Linked DNA regions of Homo sapiens: region 1 is linked to region 2. The links are contacts of gene promoters, found by promoter capture Hi-C in blood cells and fetal thymus (Javierre and others, 2016). All regions are on one chromosome and are shown on one strand. The core of a region is centred on a gene start or on the middle of the fragment in contact, and the rest is flanking DNA. Distances in the headings are between cores, read along the strand shown. Region 1 overlaps ZFP82 (ZFP82 zinc finger protein). Region 2 holds the start of ZNF829 (zinc finger protein 829).

Region 1 (7,045 bases), core at 183-2,682, 520 kb before region 2:
TGGTCTGGTGGATCCAAAATTTCACTCAAATGTCTGGTATCTTGGTGGATGTCAAGAAGACAGGGTTCAGCAGGTGCCTCTCCCTCTCTACGTAGTTTCAGGGCCTCTTCATGTGGTCTCTTCAGCAAAGTAGCCAGACTTTGTAACAAGACAGTTCTGTCATTTCATGAGATGAAGTAACCCTACCAGTAAAGTCTGAGTCAAGAAACCAGCACAGCAGTACGTCTACCATATTCTACTGGGCGAAGCAGTCACAGAGGGATGTAGATTCCTGTATACAACAGAGGGATGTAGATTCCACCTCTTGATTGAAAGTGTGTCAAACTGCTGCACTCTTATATGACCATGTCATAAATTAAAAAATTATAGCACAGAGCAGTTAAGCGTCTTGTCCAGTATGACACAAAGTGATGGGATAGGGATGACGGTAAATGTCTTTTTCATTCTTATAACAGGATTAGTTTTTAGAACAAATATGCTGAAGTTTCAGGTTTGAGTGATGATGGACTACAATACATTGTCACACTCTTTTAATGGTATAAAACCTCTAATGCCAACGCAGTTGCATGTATGGAGCAAAATAGATTAATTACTACATTCATAGAATGTTCTATAACACAGAAGTTGAAAAGACTTTCTTAGATTTTTACATTATGAATTTTCAGATGATGAGTAAGGTGTGAATGTTGCCTAAAGGCCTTCTTACATTCCTTACATTCATAGGGTTTCTCACCAGAATGAATTCTCAGATGTTGAATAAGGGATGAATTAAGTCTAAAGGCCTTCCTACATTCCTTACACTCAAAGGGTTTTTCGCCAGTATGAATGCTCTGATGTAGAGTAAGTTTTTGGCGCAATCTAAAGGCCTTGCCACATTCCTTACATTTATAAGGTTTCTCACCAATATGAATACTCTGATGCTGTGTGAGTTGTGAAAGTAGTCTGAAGGCCTTCCCGCATTCCTTACAGTCATAGGGCTTAACACCAATATGAATACTCTGATGTGAAATAAGTTGTGAGTAGCGACTAAAGGCTTTCCAGCATTCCTTACATTCGTAAGGTTTTTCACCAGTATGAATTCTGTGATGGAGAATAAGATGATAACCACGGCTAAAGGTCTTTCCACATTCCTTACATTCATAGGGTTTCTCACCAGTATGAATTCTCTGATGGAGTGTTAGTTGTTGTCGCACTCTAAAGGCCTTCCCGCATTCCTTACATTCATAGGGTTTCTCACCAGTATGAAGTTTGTGATGTACTCTAAGACCAGAGCCACACAAAAAGGCCTTCCCACATTCTTTGCATTCATAGAGCCTGTCAGCACTATTAAGCTTCTGATGCCGAGTCAGGTGTGCGTACTGTCTAAAGGCTTTTCCACACTCTTTACACACATAGGGTTTCTCACCAGTATGAATCCTCTGATGCAGAGTAAGTTGTCCTCGTACCCTAAAAGCCTTCCCACATTCTTTACATTCATAGGGCTTCTCACCAATATGCATTTTCTGATGTACTCTAAGATCTGCACCACATATGAAAGCTTCCCCACATTCCTTACATTCATAGAGTTTTTCACCAGAATGAAGTCTCTGATGTCGAGTAAGGTGTGCAGTCTGTCTGAAGGCCATCCCACATTCCTTACATTCATACGGTTTTTCACCAGTATGAATTCTGTGATGAAAAGTAAGCTGTTGGCGCACTCTGAACGCCTTCCCACATTCCTTACATTCATAGGGTTTATCAACAAAATGAAGTCTCTGATGTGGAGTAACAGATGTGCGTTTCTGGTAAGAGGACACCTTTTCAGATGGCATTTTCACACTACTGAAGTATCCTTCTTGAGGTCTCTCCTGTCCTTCAATTTTTCCTGTGGATTCCCAATCATTTTTTAAAATGAGACCCTTAAGGCCATGGTTTTCAATTCTTTCCATTATCTTCCACTGGGATAAATTTATTTCATAAATGTCATTTTCTAAAGATAACTTCTTGGTCTCATACTTGGTCTCCAAATCTAAAATAAAACAAGAAAGCAAACACATGCTGTTTTCTTTTACTAAAAGAAGCAACATTTCTAATGTAGAAATAAAAGACAACAAAAGTAATCCTTAACCAAAACTCTAAAATATTGTTATACAATTTGGAAAGAAAAAAAAAGCCAAAGGGAACATCAGGAAAAATGAGAGTTCATACAAAATAGCAAGATTGGTGATGAAGTAAACATTTTAAGTCAGTGGTTCTCATATTGAGGTGTGGATCAGAATCACCACATAGCTTGTTACTAACACTGAGGTTTAGACACCACCCAAACCACCTGGATCAGACTCTGCAGTCCTGGAAGGATATTTAATATTCTCTACATGATAATTCTGATGAAGATGAGAGGTCGAGAATCTATACTTAAATTTTTTTCATCTTTCTTCATTCTCAGAATCCAGTCAAGCTCACTGTGGTTAAGAAGGCCTCTGCTTACCTACATCATATGATCTCAAACCAGTGTCCCCTTTACTGCTCCCTGGAGAGGCCTCCTTGCAGACCTCACATGTCCTAACTTACTTCCATCTCTTAGGACTCTTCACAGTCTGTTCTATCTCCCACAAATCTCCTGATTGGGCTCTTTGCATGGCTGGCTCCTTTCATCTTGAGATCTTAGATTAAAAGTCATTTCCTTTAAGGTTGACCCTATTGATAGTACCTAAATCCATGTTGCTATTCTCTATTCCTTGCCTTTATAATAGCTCTCAATTTAAAAATTATATATTTATTAACTTCTCCAATTGTTATACTGCCTATTCTTACCTATAAACCTCCTCAAGGACAGAAACAATCCCTAGTTAACGCTACATTAAGTAATAAATGCTAAGCATATAATAGGTTTTACTCATTTAATTCCCATAGCTACATACTTGTTCTAAATGTATCTCTCTGCCTCTAGTCTCTCATGCCTTACTACAGTGATTAAATATTCTCTTTATTCATCCAGGGCAGCCCAGCTAAATACAAGAATGGAAATAGGTGGCTGTATATTCCTATGCATCTGCCACTGCTTATGCCTTTACCTATGCAGTGCACTGCCCATTTGCCCCTTCACATAGCTATGGGTAACTTTTTCTTTGTCTCTACACCATAGCAAAGGTATTGAGGAGTTCTACCTACTCAATCTTCCCTTCAACTTATTCTATTACTCATTCATTTGACAAATGTTCAACTGGTTTTGTTCTTTCCTCCCATTGCTCAGGTTTTCTCCTTTCCATTCCCTCATAGTCAAGGCCATTCCTGTTTTTTTAGGAAATGTGTATCAGTGATTTTTCGGACAGGAAAACACGTCTATATCTTACTGAAGTTCTTATGAAATTCATGGCACAAAAAGACAGGATATGCCTGTAACTCAGAAATGTGGAAAAAAGTAATGTGCATGTTCAACTGTTGCAGTCATCTGAATGTGAAGGACTTGCTAACAGAAGTCACGTTACATGTAGGCCAGAGGATGGCAAGCCAGCAACAGGAACAGCCAGAGGAAAATCTACAAGCTGAATGAGTTGTGTATGAGAGAGAAACAGGATGAGGTTTTCAATTATGATAAGGTGGTCTCTATTAAAAAGCTGAAATCTAGACACAAAACTAGGAGTTAGCAAAAAAAAAAGGTTGAAATTATATAGACATTTTCTACTAAAACTGGAAATTAATAATAAAATTAAAAGAAACACAAGTAAAATCTACCTGAAAATTCAAAAGTCTATATTAAATAACTCTTAGGTCAATAGGAAAATAAGATCTGAAACAATGTTTTTGATTTTTGCTTGTTTGTTTGTTTTTTGAGACAGAGTCTCACTCTGTCACCCAGGCTGGAGTGCAGTGGTGTGACCTCAGCTCACTGCAGCCTCTGCCTCCTGGGTTCAAGCGATTCTCCTGCCTCAGCCACCTGAGTAGCTGGGATTATAGGCATGTGCCACCACGCCTGGCTATTTTTTTTTTTTTTTTGTATTTTTAGTAGAGACAGGGTTTCACCATGTTGGCCAGGCTAGTCTCAAACTCCTGACCTCAAGTGATCCTCCCACCTCTGCCTTTCAAAGTGCTAGGATTACAGGCATGAGCCAGGCCACCTGGCTGTATTTTTGTTTTTTTGAAAATAATGGGAGGCCAGGTGTGGTGGCTCACACCTGTAATCCCAGCACTTGAGGAGGCCAAGGCAGGAAGATCTCTTCAGCCCAGGAGTTCAAGACCAGTCAGGGCAACATGGCAAGACCTCATCTCTAAAAATAATAAATTGGCTGGGCGCAGTGGCTCACGCACATAATCCCAGCACTTTGGGAGGCCGAGATGGGTGGATCACGAGGTCAGGAGATCGAGACCATCCTGACTAACACGGTGAAACCCCGTCTCTACTAAAAATAGACACACACACAAAAATGAGCTGGGCGGGGTGTCAGGCACCTGTAGTCCCAGCTACTCGGGAGGCTGAGGCAGGAGAATGGCGTGAACCTGGGAGGCGGAGCTTGCAGTGAGCCGAGATCGCGCCACTGCACTCCAGCCTGGGTGAAAGAGCGAGACTCCATCTCAAAAAAAAATACATACATAAATAAAGTAATTAAAAAATTAGCTGGGCATGGTAGTGTGTGCTATAGTCCCAGCTACTTGGGAGACTAAGGTAGGAGAAGTGCTTGAGCCCAGGAGGTCAAGGCTGCAGTGAGCTCTGTCTATGCCACTGCACTCTGGGTTGGGTGACAGAGCAAGACTCTGTTTCTTTAAAAAAAAAAAAAAAATTAAGCCTACATTTTGAAAACCTGCATATAAGTATCTATAAAACATAACCATAGTGCTTATAAGAAAATTTACAAACTAAAATACAGCAATAAAAGTGAAAAACATCGTTAAAAGTCTCATTCAAAAAAAGAAAATAAAATTAAGCTGAAGTAAAGCAGAAGAAAAATATTAACCGATATAAAAGCAGAATTAGTTAGAATACAGAAATAGAAGTAATAAAGCATAAACCAATTTTTTTTTTTTTTTTTTGAGATGGAATTTTGCTCTTGTTGCCCAGGCTGGAGTGCAGTGGCGCAATCTTGGATCGCTGCAACCTCTGCCTCCCGGGTTCAAGCAATCCTCCTGCCTCAGCCTCCTGAGTAGCTGGGATTACAGGCACACACCACCACGCCCAGCTAATTTTTTGTATTTTTACTAGAGACGGGTTTCATCATGTTGGCCAGGCTGGTCTCAAACTGCTGACCTCAGGTGACCCACCCGCCTCGGCCTCCCAAAGTGCAGGGATTACAGGCGTGAGCCACCGCGCCTGGCCTCATAAACCAATTTTTTAATCAACAAAATGTAAGCCATGGTTAAGATAATGAAAACAGCAAGAAAGCACAGACATAGAAATAAGAAAGAACAAATGAAAATGATCATGAATACAGAGGACAGATGACTATGCTAATAAATTTGAAAACACAGCTAAAATGGATAATTTGTTGTTTTTTTGTTTTTTGAGACAGAGTCTCACTCTGTCACCCAGGCTAGAGTGCAGTAGTATAATCTCGGCTCACTGCAACCTGCACCTCCACCCGCTGGCCCCCCGCCACGCCCCACCACCTTCAAGCGATTCTCCTGCCTCGGCCTCCCAAGTAGCTGGGATTACAAGCACACGCCACCACACCCGGCTAAATTTTGTACTTTTAGTAGAGACGGGATTTCACCATCTTGGCCAGGCTGGTCTTGAACTCCTGACCTTGTGATCCACCCGCCTCAGCCTCCCAAAGTGCTGGGATTACAGGCATGAGCAACCATACCCAGCCTAAAATGGATAATTTTTTAGAAAAATATAATTTATCAAAACTGATCATGGAAGAGATAGATGTTAATAAAATGTTTATATAGATCAATTCCCATAGAGCAAATAGAGAATGTGATCAGACTTACCATCCCTTTTCCCAAGAATAAAGCTTTACAAAACTTATTTAAGCTTTAAAGACAGGCTATCAAAATTCTTTTTCAACTAAGAAGATCAGGACTTCCAAACTGTTTTCATAAAGTGATACTGATATAAAGATCGCTCACAAAAAGAAAACTACACACCAATATTCTGAACACTGAGGAAAAAATTCTAAATATCTAATAAAACAGCACATTGAAAGACCCAAGGGGTGTTTATTACAAGAATGTTTTAGGCTGGGCGCAGTGGCTCACACCTGTAATCCCAACACTTTGGGAGGCCAAGGTAGGTGGATCACGAGGTCAGGAGTTCAAGACCTGCCTGGCCAATATTGTGAAACCCTGTCTCTATTAAAAATACAAAAGTTAGCGGGGTGTGGTGGCACATGCTTGTAGTCCCAGCTACTTGGGAGGCTGAGGTAGAAGAATCGCTTGAACCCAGGAGGCAGAGGTTGCAATGAGCCAAGATCACGCCACTGCACTCCAGCCTGGGCAACAAGAGCAAAACTCCATCTCAAAAAAAAAAAAAAATGTTTCAATGGTTCAATATGGGGAAATCTATTAAGACAATTCAATATACCAACAGAGTGAAGGAGAAAAAAAAAATCACACAATCAATTCCATAGATGCTGAAAAGGTAACTAAAAAAAGACCAAAACTGTTCCTGAATTTGTTTTCCCAAGAAACAGCGTCACCCTCTGTCACCACAGCTGGAGTGCAGTGGTGCAATCACAGCTCACTGCCGCCTCTAACTCGTGGGCTCAAGCAATCCTCCTGCTTCATGTTCCTGATTTTTTTTAAAAAAGCTCAGTGAAACTGTAATGATACTTCCCTAAATGATAAAGTATATATTATCTTACCAAAAAGGCAGCTTGCCTAACATTACCACTACTATTAATGATGTAGTATTAGAGTTATTAGTCAACATAATTAAAAAATCAGAAAAAAAAATCAGAGGTAGAAGAATTAGAGGTAAAACTCTATTTCCAAAGGATATGCCTGTCTAATTGGAAAACTCAAAGGTTTAAATATTATAAATGGCAACAAAATTTAGAAAGGTAGCAGGATATAAAATAAAAATACAAACAACAATATCCTTTGAATATACATTTAACAATAAAATATG
Region 2 (6,683 bases), core at 3,538-6,037:
GACTGAGCCTCTTAAGCAATGGGGTCTATGTTAACTCTGGGTAGTGTCAGAATTCAGTTAAACTATAGGACACTCAGTTAGTGTCCCAAAAATTTTGTTTATAAAAGGACACACATTCCCAATTGATAGGAGAAATGAGGGTACTTCTCCCTCACCTTAGGACAAGCAAGGGGGCCCCTTTAGACTCCAGGGTCCAAAGTGGAATGATGAGATACTTTGGAATAATTTTTGCTGTATTCTCTGGAGCTTAGGGGGCACAAAGATTAGTACCTATTTCCCTCTTTGGACTAGATGTGGACCCAATAAAGGGACAAAGTGACCTCAACAAAGGAATGGATCACAGAATGCAGAAGTGTATGACAGATGTCATAAGTAGCCATTTCAAGAAGACATGCTGTGCATATCCCAGGAAATGCAATTAGAGGTTTCCAGCAGGGGCTTCTCTGAGAGACTCTTAATAGTGTCTCCTAACAAAGGAGTGTTGAACATCCATCAAGGCAAAAGAGATCAACACCAAAACAAGTCAAGAAAGACTTTTCTTTTCCTTACCTCCTCTTCCCTACCCCTGCTCTAATCTCATAGGATCCAGAGACTGACTTAGGCAGGAGAAATAGAAGCTCAGGGCGAGGAAATCAAGAAGCTTAATTATGTCCCTTTTCATACTTTGCAAGCTTGAAGCAATTCTCAGCTCAGAGAAGAGGCTTTAAATGAAACTCACATATTATTACAGTGAACTAGAGGTTGTAATTAGTAAAATGAGACTAGATTTTGACTGAAAACAATCAAAGGACATCAAAGAGTGATAAAAATTATAGTCTATACCAGTTCTTATCCAGGGCAACAAAAAAATTAACCCACAGAGAGGGTTGAGAGTAGAAATTATGAGGAAAAAGTTTTTCTTTTGCTTGCTTCATATGGAATCCTGCTTATTTCAAAATGCTGATCACAAGCAGATTTGGTTTTTCAGTTACACAGTCACATCATCTATAAAGCGATAATCTTATGCCCTCTTTTGTAATTTTTAACCTAATTTTTTTTCTTATGTAAGTGTTTTGGTTAATATCTATAAAACAATGTTAAATAACATTGGTAATGTGGTATATCCTTGTTTTACTTCTAATTTTCAAATATTTTGATGTTTCAAATATTTCCTGATTAAACATTAGATTAAGTTCTGAAAACAAATTTTATTTCTTTTAAAATTTATTGTCCCCCGGGCACAGTGGCTCATGCCTGTAATCCCAGCACTTTGGGAGGCCGAGATGGGCAGATCACCTGAGGTTGGGAGTTCAAGACCAGCCTGACCAGCATGGAGAAACACCGTCTCTACTAAAAATACAAAAATTAGCCGGGCGTAGTGGCGCATGCCTGTAATCCCAGCTACTCGGGAGGCTGAGGCAGGAGAATCGCTTGAACCCAGGAGGTGGAGGTTGTGGTGAGCCGAGATCATGCCATTGTGCTCCAGCCTGGGAAACAAGAGTGAAACTCTGTCCCAAAAAAAATAAAAATTTATTGTCTACTACAGTATACTACATGTCCCTAGTTATTCCCGTTAATACTGGGCAACAATCTTCTCTATAGAAATGAGAAGTGTAACTAGAGACTGATGCAAGAGGGGAAGCAGATATTCTATTTGGGCTTTGGCACAGGAGAGGGAAGACTCAGTCCTCTTTAAAAGAAATTCAGATAGAAAGGCCTTACACAAAATACTTAGTTAGACTTATTCTTATCCTGATTTTCTCTGCATCTGTACCAAACACATACAATTTAAAAATTGAGAGTAGGCCCACTCAGAGTTCCAAATTTACACCTTGAGAAAACATTGTCACTATTCTGAGTCCTCTATCCTAGTATGTATCCTCTAATTTTCAGATAAAATGATTACCTGGTGAATGGATAACCTTACAATTTAGTGAGTTCCCCAAGATTAGAAGTGTTGAAACACAAACTGAATAAAGATATTTTTATTATTACTTGGAGGAAGAATCCAAAAACTCTGTAATTGCCTGCCATGCCCACTGCCCCCTCCTGAGATGAGGCAAGGTTCTTTTGTTTGCTTTGATTTCAGCTATAAGTATCAACTCTAAAAACCAAAAAGAGATAAGACACAGAAAAGAAGAAGAAATTCTAACATATGTTTAGTTAGAACCTGAGAAGGAAAGGGGGAGAGAATGATACGGGGGCTTTTTGAAGGTATAATGACTGAAGATTTTCCTGAACTAATAATAGATATCCATCCATAAATTTTAAAACTCTACAAATCCCAAGCAGACAAATAAAACACATTTATATATCTTACACTAAAATTACAGAAAGCCAAAAACAAAACAGTCAGAGGAAGACAAGGCAGATTACCATCAAGGGAGACGAGCTAATCAAGACTGTATGATACTGGCACAGGAATATAAAAAATCAGTGGAAGAGAATAAAGAGTTCATAAACATACCCATGCACATATAGACACTAGGTATATTTGAAGACCAATGAGAACACAATAGACCTTCCAATATATGGTATTGATAAACTGGGTATTAATAAGGAGGGGGGAATCTGACTCTTACCTCATAACATATACAAAAACCAGTTGCAACTATATAAAATATCTAAACATGAAAGTGAAACTTATGGCTTTAAGCATAAATATAGGAGAGTATCTGCATGACCTTGGGACAGGGAAGGATTTATTTAAAAAGATACAAAAAGCACTAACCATAAAGAAAAAATATTGATAAACTCAGCTTTTTAAAAATTAGAACTTATCATAAAATCATCTTACAGGAAATGATGAAATAGTCCAAATAGTAGGAAAACAATCAATAAAGGACTGAGATCCAGATTACATAAATAACTCATACGAATCAATAAGAGCTATTCCAAGAGAAAAATGAGTAAAGATTTGAACTGACATGTCACAAAAGATGACTAAAAACCAATAAACATATGGAATATGTTCAATTTTATTATTAATCACGGAAACCCAAATTCAAACCTGTGGGGGTGGGCGGGTATAAGTACAGATATATATTCAAATGAGGATTTAAAAGTCTGGCATGTCTGATTTGTATATCATAGTTTTTGCAAACATCAAAAATGTATTTCCCAAGACCATTTGATGACATGGGAGAATATTTCTGACACTTCTTTTTGCAAAAATGTAGAACATCAAATGGTAAATGAAATAAAATTTGGTTTTTGACAAATAATGAAAATACATTAAAATATTAACCCTAGTTATCTGAGTGGCTAAATTTTATTTTTTCTTGGTAATGCTGTGTTTTTGAGATCTCTAAATTAATCATCCTTTTATTTTTAAATCAGAATAAATATTTGAGAAGAAAATTCAGCAAGCATAAGTGGAGCAACCATCCTTTTCTGTGATGGGAAAATTATAGGGACCTATAATTAAATGACATTCCTTTAAGCAAGAATTTTCAGAAGAAAAAGAGGAAACCCCAACACACCTTGGATACTGCTTGTAGAAGTTCATCATGCATTCTTTCCTCCTCTTCTGGGTGACACCTGGAGAAAGGTAAAATTGGGAGAGGGAAGAGTAACTGTGAGACACCAGGTTTTTCTTGGTACCCAGATTAGTCAAGTAAGAGTTCTTCCCCAGCCCCATTACCCACCACACATGAGGAATGGAGATCAGAGGAGAATGGGGCATTCTGTCCAATTCCAGTGGCTCAGGGGAAAGGTTGTGTTCACTGCTGTCCAGGGTTGGAATCTGACCAGACCTCAGAGAGGTTTCCTAGAGACAGAGTTCTGGAGTCACAATCGCATAGTTGACAGGACCCCATACTCATACACAGAATGCCACATACATTTAGGGACAGTCACACTTAAGGCGACATGCACGTCTCACCTGCCCACAAGGAGCCACACACGGCAACACAGTTACAATCACATACACACCATAGGAAACACACAATTACAGCTGCACAATCGTAGGCACCCCACACTGTCGCAGAGTCACAATCACACATCACCACGGGAACACACAGCCACAACCCCCACAGTGACAGGTATCCCATATCCGCACATAAGCCGCAGTGTTATTATCTCCCAGACAATTTCACAACCTCCCCTCTTTTTTTGGGGGGGTGGGGTGGGGTGGGGACAGAGTCTTGCCCTGTCGCCAGGCTGGAGTGCAGTGGTGCGATCTCGGCTCACTGCAACCTCCGCCTCCCGGGTTCAAGTGATTCTCCTGCCTCAGCCTGCGAGTAGCTGGGATTACAGGCGCGCGCCACCATGCCTAGCTAATTTTTGTATTTTTAGTAGAGATGGGGTTTCACCATGTTGGCCAGGATGGTCTCGATCTCTTGACCTCGTGATCCTCCTGCCTCGGCCTCCCAAACACAACCTCCACCTTTCAGGCCGCTCCGCCCGCAGGGGCCCAAGGCGCCAGCTCCCCATCGGTCTTCGGTATCCTCACCTAAGCCCTTTCCAGTCATCCCGGATGGGAACTTGCAGACCTGAGCCAGTTCTCCTGGGGACCAAAATATCTCACCTCCCAGATCTAAGGGTCCCGCCAGGAGTGACGAAACGTTCGAATTCCTGCGAGAAAAGTGGCAGGCCACCAGGCCCTCTGGGAAATGTAGTCCAGAGCGGGACCCACGCCGATTCCTGTCAGCTCCTCGCCTGGGCCCACCCGAAACGGCTGCTCCCTCAACTCTCAACATCCAGCCGAGCCTCGGAGTTGCGGGTCGCCGTAGCGCTGCGCAATGGAGATGAGCCTCCCGGGGAACCCGGCCCAAGCCTCACCCTCACACAGGAAAGCAGATGTGTTCTGGCCGGAAGTTGAGTGGGGCCGCGGGGCCTGCTGGGAGGTGTTGTCCTCGGAAACGTCGCTGGCGCGGAGGGATGGTTCGGCGCTTTAGGCGTCTGTCACAGACCTATCTGCGGGTCGCCTTCACCCAGCATCTCAGAAACTGCGCGCGGGATGAACATTCGGGTGTTTCCGGCAGGTGACGCTGCCGAGTCCCCGCAGCAGGGGGCGAGCAAGGGACTCGCGGTTGACGGGACACGGATCCTCTAAGGCCCAGAGTGTCCCGAGTAGCGGCAGTGGGGAGTGCTCAGGGTACGCTAATGGTGAGTGGTTGCAGTTGATGGGACAAAAAACTGTGATGGGAGTTAGTGTGGGTGTGTGGTTGTGTGTGTGAGTGTGACGGCACGAATAATCTGATGGGGTGATTGTGATATTTGGTTGCGCGGGATTATGATGAAATGTGTGATATGTGTGTGATTATGATTAAGGCTGTAGCGAGTGTGAACGTGGCGAAGTGTGCGTGATTGTAATATGTCTAGTAGTTCTTGTCTTGAGCTGGCTTTTCTGTAGCATTTGGCACAGTTGGTAACGGCTTGAAAAACACTTATTTGTTTTCTACTGATCCTCCCTCCTTGTTGGCCACTCCTCTGTAGTCTTCTTTGCTGTCTTTTTTACCCTAGTAGCCCTTGGCCCTTTGTAATTTTCCACTATTCCTTGGCGAACTTTTCAGGTTCATTATTATCTTATGACTTGCTGCTTTTATGTATGTTAGTTAGCTATTGCCATGATAATAATTATGTCTAAAAACCACCCCTGAACTCAATGCCATACAACAGCAAGTCCTTACTCTCCTGTTCACAGGCTTGCGCATTGACTGTGTTCAGCTGATCTAGGTGGGGCTTGGCTGAGTGGATAGGCTGCGTGACGAGTTAAGATCTGCGCCGCATGTGTTCTTTCAGGGTCTCAGGCCAAAAGGACATTTGTTGCCAGGGCATGCTCTGCTCCTGATGGGTCACCAGAGCGCAAGAGAGATTGCCTCAACCAGAGCAAGTCACATGGCTAAGCCTAAAATCAATTATGCCCACAGTTGGAGAGCAAAGTTACCTCGCAAAGAGTATGAATAATAATCTATTAGAGGGTGTGAGGAATTGGACTAAAATTCCAGTCTACCACCTTAAGAAACATACCTCTTTATCCTGGTGAATGCCTTTTAGTCCGGGTTCTCTTTTGTCTGATAATATTGCTTTTCAAGTTTTATTGTATTTCTTAAGAATTTCATTTTCTAACCCCCTTGTGTCTTTATGTTTCAGATCTGTGTCTTGTAAAGAGCATATTGCTGGGCTTACATCCGTTTATCTTGTTTGACTGTTATTTTAATAGGTGAGTATAGTTCAGTGGCATTTATCATGATTGCTCATAAAAAATGTTTTATTTTCTATTACGCCTTAAACATTTTTGATTGACATATAATAGTTGCACATATATCTTTTTTTATTGTGCAAATTCACCTTATCCCTTTTTCTCCCCTAGGTTGGTTTCTGCTATTATCCTTTTTTAATATGCATGCTTAACAAAACTCAACCTTAAGACTTTAAAATACTTGAACTCCAAAATATCCACCAATTTCTGTGTTATTCTTGTCTCATATATTATTTTCTTCTAGTTTTTGTTGTTGTTGTTGTTTTGTTTTGTTTTTTTGAGACGGAGTCTCGCTCTGTCACCCAGGCTGGAGTGCAGTGGCACGGTCTCGGCTCACTGCAAACTCCGCCTCCCGAGTTCAAGCGATTCTCCTGCCTCAGCCTCCCGAGTAGCTGGGACTACAGACGCGCCACCACGCCCGGCTGATTTTTTGTATTTTTAGCAGAGACAGGGTTTCACCATGTTAGCCACCATGGTAGATCTCCTGACCTCGTGATTT

The links. The method cuts DNA at HindIII sites, captures the fragments that hold promoters and counts their contacts. A CHiCAGO score of 5 or more calls a contact.
Region 1: a contact is called between a fragment that was not itself captured here and the fragment with the promoter of ZNF829 in region 2, in 1 of 17 cell types (total CD8 T cells). The highest score is 6.2, in total CD8 T cells.

The regions. Positions count from the first base shown.
Region 1 is chr19:36,392,103-36,399,147 of GRCh38, forward strand. ZFP82 (ZFP82 zinc finger protein) reads right to left here. Exons shown (of 5, transcript NM_133466.4): 5 at 1-2,008. The coding sequence ends at 639. Among named protein-coding and RNA genes, the nearest start is that of ZFP14, 16 kb to the left of the region's middle. The HindIII fragment of the contact is 206 bases long and covers 1,330-1,535 here.
Region 2 is chr19:36,911,504-36,918,186 of GRCh38, forward strand. ZNF829 (zinc finger protein 829) reads right to left here and starts at 4,788. Exons shown (of 6, transcript NM_001037232.4): 1 at 4,508-4,788; 2 at 3,627-3,748; 3 at 3,462-3,519. The coding sequence starts at 3,664. It overlaps ZNF568 (zinc finger protein 568), which reads left to right and starts at 4,829. Exons shown (of 7, transcript NM_198539.4): 1 at 4,829-5,088; 2 at 6,076-6,145. RefSeq lists enhancers at 4,424-4,473, 4,534-4,913. The HindIII fragment of the contact is 8,467 bases long and covers 670-6,683 here.